Linked DNA regions of Homo sapiens: region 1 is linked to region 2. Evidence: promoter capture Hi-C in human tissues and cell types (Jung and others, 2019). All regions are on one chromosome and are shown on one strand. Each heading gives the region's core, a stretch centred on a gene start or on the middle of the fragment in contact. The rest is flanking DNA. Distances are from core to core; before and after follow the strand shown. Region 1 has its middle 14 kb from the start of LTF. Region 2 holds the start of CCRL2 (C-C motif chemokine receptor like 2).

Region 1 (3,160 bases), core at 142-2,641, 71 kb before region 2:
TCCACCTGGGTGTCCGGGGTCTGTCAGTCTTACCATGATTAGAATGGAGCTTCTGATCCACCTCCTCCTCAATCTGCTTTATTCCCAGTCTTCCCCATCTCAGTTAATGAAACTACCTCCTTTTAGTTTCTCAGGCCAAACACCTTGGTGCCATCATCCACCTCTCTCCTTCACACCCCACATCCCCTTGTAATGTAAGCAAATCCCATGACCTCCTCCTTTAAAATATGTCAAGAATCCAGCCATCTCACTATTTCTCCACTGCCACATCCTAATCAAAGCCACTTCTGGCCGGGCGCAGTGGCTCACGCCTGTAATCCCAGCATTTTGGGAGGCTGAGGTGGGTAGATCACTTGAAGTCAGGAGTTCGAGACCAGCCTAGAAACCAGCCATGGTGAAACCCCGTCTCTACTAAAAATACAAAAATTAGCCAGGGGTGGTGGCACTTGCCTGTAATCCCTGCTACTTGGGAGGCTGAGGCAGGAGAATCGCTTGAACCCTGGAGGCAGAGGTTGGAGTGAGTTGAGATCGTGCCACTGCACTTCAGACTGGGTGACAGAGCGAGACTCTGTCACAAACAAACAAACAAACAAACAAACAAACAAACAGAAAAGCCACTTCATCTCTCTCCCAGGTCACTGCTGGAGCCTCCCTAATCATCTCTCTGCTCCCCACTTGTTCTGCCTCTCAGTCCATTCTCAGCCTTCTGCCTTGGCTCCTACATCCTCAGAGTAAAAGCAGATGGTCTTCTAGGTACCCACAGGGCCCCACAATTCCCGGGCCCTGTAATCTCCCCCTCAATCACTTGGTTCCGGCCAAACCCACTTTGTGGAGGTTGCTGGAAGATGCCAGGGTGGGAGAGAGGGGGCTATGGGGTTTTCCCTGCCTGTCACAGGTCAGGCTGCCCCTCCTCCAGAGCTGCCACAGGTGGGAGGCAGATTCCCTACCACGCACAGAGCCTTGGGCACAGGCGTGGTTCTCCATGCTTCTTCTGTTACCGTGGTCCATGGACATTCTCATCTCCTATGGTGGTAACTGACTATTCCCTTGTCTGTTGCCCTTGGGGGCAGAACTGAGTCTAACTCAGTTTGGTGACCCAGTACCTAACAAGGACCTGGTCCAGGATAAATGCTCTGTGAGGATGGCTTTAGTTGAGGGAACCCCTCTAAGTGCAAGGAGTCAGGAAGCTGGATTCTACCTGGCCGCACTGTGTCAGGTCTGAGCAGGCCACACGCCCTCTCTGGGCTTAGAGACCTCATTTGTAAAATGGCATAAAAAATATTATTTTCTGAGAGTGTCTGATTTTCTTGGTCAAATTATTTCAAGGTAGTAACCTCAAGCCAGAATATTTCCAAATATCCTGGAAATTGCTCACTTTTGTGACTCTTTCCTCCATTTCCAAATAGCCATCAGGTTCTGCTTCATCTACGAGGTCCCCAGGCCCACCCACTAGTTCCTCATTCTGCCAGTCATCTTCTGCCCTACCCTCTTCTGTCCTCCCCTTGGCCCTCTAGCATCTACGTTGCATCCTGCGGCTGCTTCCTCATCCAGCTGCACTGTCCAGGAAGATGGGGAGTGATGGTTAAGAGCGGGGTGGACCTGGCCTCACCCTTTGGTCCCTGGCACTCTCTAGGGACCCTGCTCATGCCTGCTGATAGCACTGTGGAGAGCAAAGTGTGTCACCTGCCCTTTGTCACCAACATAGCGACCTTCAGCCTCTGGGGAAGTGACTGAGTGGCCACATGGGTTCTGGGAAAGCTTCCCTTGTAGCCCAGAGACCCTTGGAGGGGGAGAGAGAAGATGTGTGGAGCAAAGCCAAGACTGACAGTCGGGACGCAGCTGGGTTACTGGTGAGCAGAAATTCAAGGAGGCTGCCCAGGCTGCTGAGAGGGGCCATTAGGAAAAGTCTCAGGGCAGTGGGGCGGGAAGAGGGCATGATGGTGAGAGAGACAGAGAACTGGAGAGAGAAGTGGACGTCATAAAAGAGAGAGGAGTGAAAGAGTTACAAAGGGTTGCAGATAACAGGACAGAATGTGGGCATAAGGAGTGTGGGTGTGGAGAGGGGCCCAAGGAATCACAAAGACAGATGTCTGTAAAAGGGCTGGGGCACGCTGCTGGGTTAGCTTGAGAAGGAAGACTGGGGAAAGTGGCTCCCGCTCGGCCCTCTGTCCTCCCTGTAGGGTGAACTTGCCTTTGCTAACACCTTCTGTTGGATTGTGACTCAACTGGAGCCGCCTGGGGAAAGGGAACTCTTTGCAGATTCCCAGGACTCTGCATAGGTTCTGGCTCACAACGGGGACCAGAAATGCATGGAAACAATAACAATAATAGTTAATATTGACTGAGTTTTCACTGTATGGTTTGGCCTTGTACTGAAAATCTTACATCCATTCATTTATTAATTCACACACCCATTCCTTCGTTCAAAAAATATCGATTGAGCAGCCCCTATGTGCTGGGCACTGTTCTAAGCATCTTTATAAGTTACTTCATTAAGTTCTAACAATTTTATGAGGGAGATGCTTTTAGTATTCCTATTTTCACATGGGGACACTGAAGCTGAGACAGGCTGAATGACGTGGCTAGATCTGGGGAGTGGGGAAGAGGTAGAGCTGGTTTCAAACTCCCCTGCCTGCGATGTTTAACCACTCTCATCACTGACCCTGCCTTTCAGGCACCAGACTACCCAGTGAATCAAAGGGACAAGGGAGTCGCCTAGAATGCAGGTGTGGCCTTGGGATGTGCTCAGAAGGGCCAGGCTTCATCTGGGCTTAGAAGAGCTGAGGGAGGAGGAGCCCTGGGCTCCCTCACAGAGGCAAGTGGAGGGAAATGGTGACTCTGAAGAATATTGAAAGAACTATCCGCCAATGAGAAAAAGCCTTACCAAATAATCAAACAATGGACAAAAGACATTCCCAAACAGAGTGGCTGAAATGAAAAAGACAGACAATGGCAGTGTTGGCAAGGATGTGAAGCCCCTAGAACTCTCATATACATTGGTGGGAATATGAATTGCTACAATTAACTTTGGAAAACTAGCAGAATTTTCTAAAGCAGAACGTAGTCATATGCTGTAAAACTCCATTCCTAAGTACATGACCAACAGAAAAGAATACATATGTTCGCTTCAGCACCATTGTAATAACCCCAAGTTAGAAAC
Region 2 (3,179 bases), core at 91-2,590:
CTGAGGTTTATAAACCACGAATTCAGGCAAAGTGGCCAGAATGGCTGTTACCCATGCCAGGACACTTGTAATGATGCCACAGGGCACCCTCCTCCTGGCTGAGAAAAAGTTTCCCTTGTGCAAAAACACTAGGTACCTTTGCACAGTCAGAAGGCAATTGAAAAATGTCTCACTGTACAGGCCCACGAAGTACAGTCCAATGAGAATTTTACACATGGGATCGCCCCCAGCATGAGCCCAGAAGGGCAGGGTAAGCAAGAAACACAAGTTAGAAACTGCCAAGTTTAGAAGATAGATATTTTCCACGCGTTTGAGTCCTTTATATTTTACCAGGATAAGCACAACCAGGAGATTGTCCAGGACACCGATCACAAACACAGCAGAGCAGAGTGATGGCACCAGCTGGGCTGAGAGTGCCTGGGCGTCATACTTGTCACATTGCTCTGCCTCATCGCTCTCCAGTTCACCTTCTATGAGGACATCATATTCATCCTCTGGTGCCAGCGTGTAATTGGCCATCTTCAGACTGCCCTGTGGAGAAATGGGAGATGATTTTCCCCTCCGACAGCTGCCTTATCCTGGAGGAAACAACAAACTGGACCTGGATTCATACAGCCCCACTTTCCCTTTCTGGAGCTACATTTTAGCCAGAGTAATTCCCTATTTCAGAAGACTGAAATAAACATTTCTTTAACGTGTGCCCACTTCCCCAGAGCAGCACCATTCCCAATCTAGTTGTTAAGCATGTAAGTGCTTAGCAGTGTGCCAGGTGCCACGGGAAATAAAGCTGGCATGACACCGCCTTGGTAGAACTTACCTTCTTTTAGCAGAAACAGGACTTGCCTACATGAACACAATATGTAAGAAAATATATAATTAAAGAGAACCAAGTACGATGGCTTACTTTTAAGAAACGGGTGTAGATCATAATTTCTGCATTTTAAAAAGTTTGCTCACCCCCCGAAGCAGCTTCCTGTGACAGCTGAGACGTTTTTCTCTCGAAGGGTATAAATAAATGTTTGCAAAAGTGAAACCATGCTCAGCATCAACATGGCCATAAGGGGTTAAATACATAGATGACACACAGATGACTTACCACTGGGCTGAGCTCCTGCAGGGGAAGGGCGCAGCCTCCAGACCCAGCATCCGGGAGCTGTGGGAATGGCCCCGGACAGTGGATGCCCTCCTTTTGATCAGACTGCTCCTGACCCTGAGGGGCACGAGAAACCACTGTTGATTCCCCTGGTGGCTCTACCCGCCCCACTCACCGAGCTCAGGGACCAACTGAAATAAAGTACTCAAAAGCTCCCCCAGGCCTCCAGAGGATCTCTGAAGCGTCTGAAAGCAACCGGGAAGTTGTTTCCTCCTCCCTCTGGCCCTGTACCCCGCCTTTGATTTCCCTGTGACCTTTGACAGCCGTCTTCTGGCCTTCTGAGATAAGGGAACTGTGTCACTGCCGCTCTGAGTGGTAGCAAGGAAGTGATGTCAAGGTGCTGAGAACTGCCAAGACGCTCTGGCTTGTGGCATGTGACACTCTGAGTAGGTAACAGGTACCAGCTACTGTCAGCAGGGAGGAAGGTATGTGGTGACCACGAGTCCAGACCTGAGGGTCCTGACCCTCTAATGCGGCCTCTCACCAGTGTTCGCAGAAACCCACCCGCTGATTCAATACGGGGACCAGGAACCTGCCATGACAGTCACGGTGTGTTTGGGTTTTTATTGTCATTTTTGAGGGGCACTGTGTGCTTTGGTTAAGACTGAGGCCTCAAAAGAGAATTTTAGGAAAATGGAAGCCACAGGGTGATGTCAGCTGGGAAAAGGCCAGGGGCAGAGGTGGGGTCTCAGCGGCAGTGAGCATAGGGCTGCCCTGGGTGTCAACACTGAGGAAAGCAAAGGGGTTTGCAAGCAGCCAGAAGTGATTGGTGCTGTGACTCATGGGGGAGCTGACCCCACTCGGAAAAGGAGAACCCAGAGGAGGAAAATCCCGTGGTGATGACACAGAGGCGACATCAAGTTGGGTGGGAGAGAATGTGAGGAGGACAAGTTTAACCCCAAACTGAGGCTGGGGGCTAGGGTAGGTTTGAGTCCAGAGAGAAGGAAATTGAGAGAACAGCCCAGATTTGGAATGGTGGGAGGAGGCTGTGGGGAGGGGAGGCTGTGGGAAGAGAGTGGGACGGGGAGGGCACGGTCTGGAAGAAGGACGAACCGAGAAGAGGAACTTGAAAATAATGAAAAAATCTAGATGAGCTTCTCTTGGGTCAACGACTCAGCAGCTGTGACTAACCTAATTTGGGGATCAGACCTATTTGCTTAGAATTTATATATTGATTAAATGACATCCTTTTCCCACCAAAGATGTGTCTGAGGTAGGATTGAATACAAAATTTGTACCTGTCAAAATAGAAATAGAAAATTAAGAAACTAGCCTGGCACTGAGGCGCATTCCTACAGCCCCAGCTACTCAGAAGTATGAGGTGGGAGGGTCGCTTGAGCCCAGGAGTTTGAGGCCAGCCTGGGCAACATAGTGAGATCCCGGATCTATAAACAATATAAAAATTAGCCAGATGCAGTGGCAAGTGCCTGTAATCCCAGACATTCCAGAGGCCAAGGTGGGATGTTCACGTGAGCCCAGGAGTTGGAGGCTGCGGTGAGCCATGATCATGCCACTCTGCACTCTGGCCTGGGTGGCAGAGCGAGACACTGTCTCTGGAAAAAAAAAAGAAGAAGGAGGAGGAGGGGCGGGGAGAGGAAGGGAGGAGAGAGAACTATTAAGAGAAAAATAAACACAGAAAGAGCCCAGACAAATATGTGATTGAGCATTAAATTTAACTCCACGTGTGCCGACAGACAAGGCAGAAAGAGAAACACAATGATGTTTGATGGCAGAGGAGTTGGTGCTGGTGGGAACCTAAGCTGTAAGTGCCCTCTCCTCTCTTGTGTGGGTCTCCTGTGAGTGAGTGAGTGGGGGTCATGGTGCCCTGGGACACTCTTCCCACCCCCTACAGCCTGGGATCAGCAGTGGCCCCTCCTCCTGGGTCTCTCCACCTCCTGCAGCTGGGCAGGACACTCAGGATCTTGAATGAGTAGGTGCGGGCAGCTTTACTCTCGATACTCATGGATCAGTTCCAGGAAAAGGAAGGAAAGTCAAGTCAGACTTTGAAACTTGCAAAACGCTGGGA

The links. Contacts are between HindIII fragments. The study calls those that stand out against the background at their distance.
Region 1: a contact is called between a fragment that was not itself captured here and the fragment with the promoter of CCRL2 in region 2, in 4 of the 25 tissues and cell types used here (IMR-90 fibroblasts, aorta, lymphoblastoid cells and 1 more).

The regions. Positions count from the first base shown.
Region 1 is chr3:46,476,957-46,480,116 of GRCh38, reverse strand. It overlaps a transcript of LTF not described here. Among named protein-coding and RNA genes, the nearest start is that of LTF, 14 kb to the right of the region's middle. RefSeq lists enhancers at 1,191-1,690, 1,691-2,192. The HindIII fragment of the contact is 7,156 bases long and covers 1-3,160 here.
Region 2 is chr3:46,405,420-46,408,598 of GRCh38, reverse strand. CCRL2 (C-C motif chemokine receptor like 2) reads right to left here and starts at 1,340. Exons shown (of 2, transcript NM_003965.5): 1 at 1,097-1,340; 2 at 1-531. The coding sequence starts at 519. It overlaps CCR5AS (CCR5 antisense RNA), which reads left to right and starts at 1,533. Exons shown (of 4, transcript NR_125406.2): 1 at 1,533-1,702. The HindIII fragment of the contact is 5,778 bases long and covers 1-1,704 here.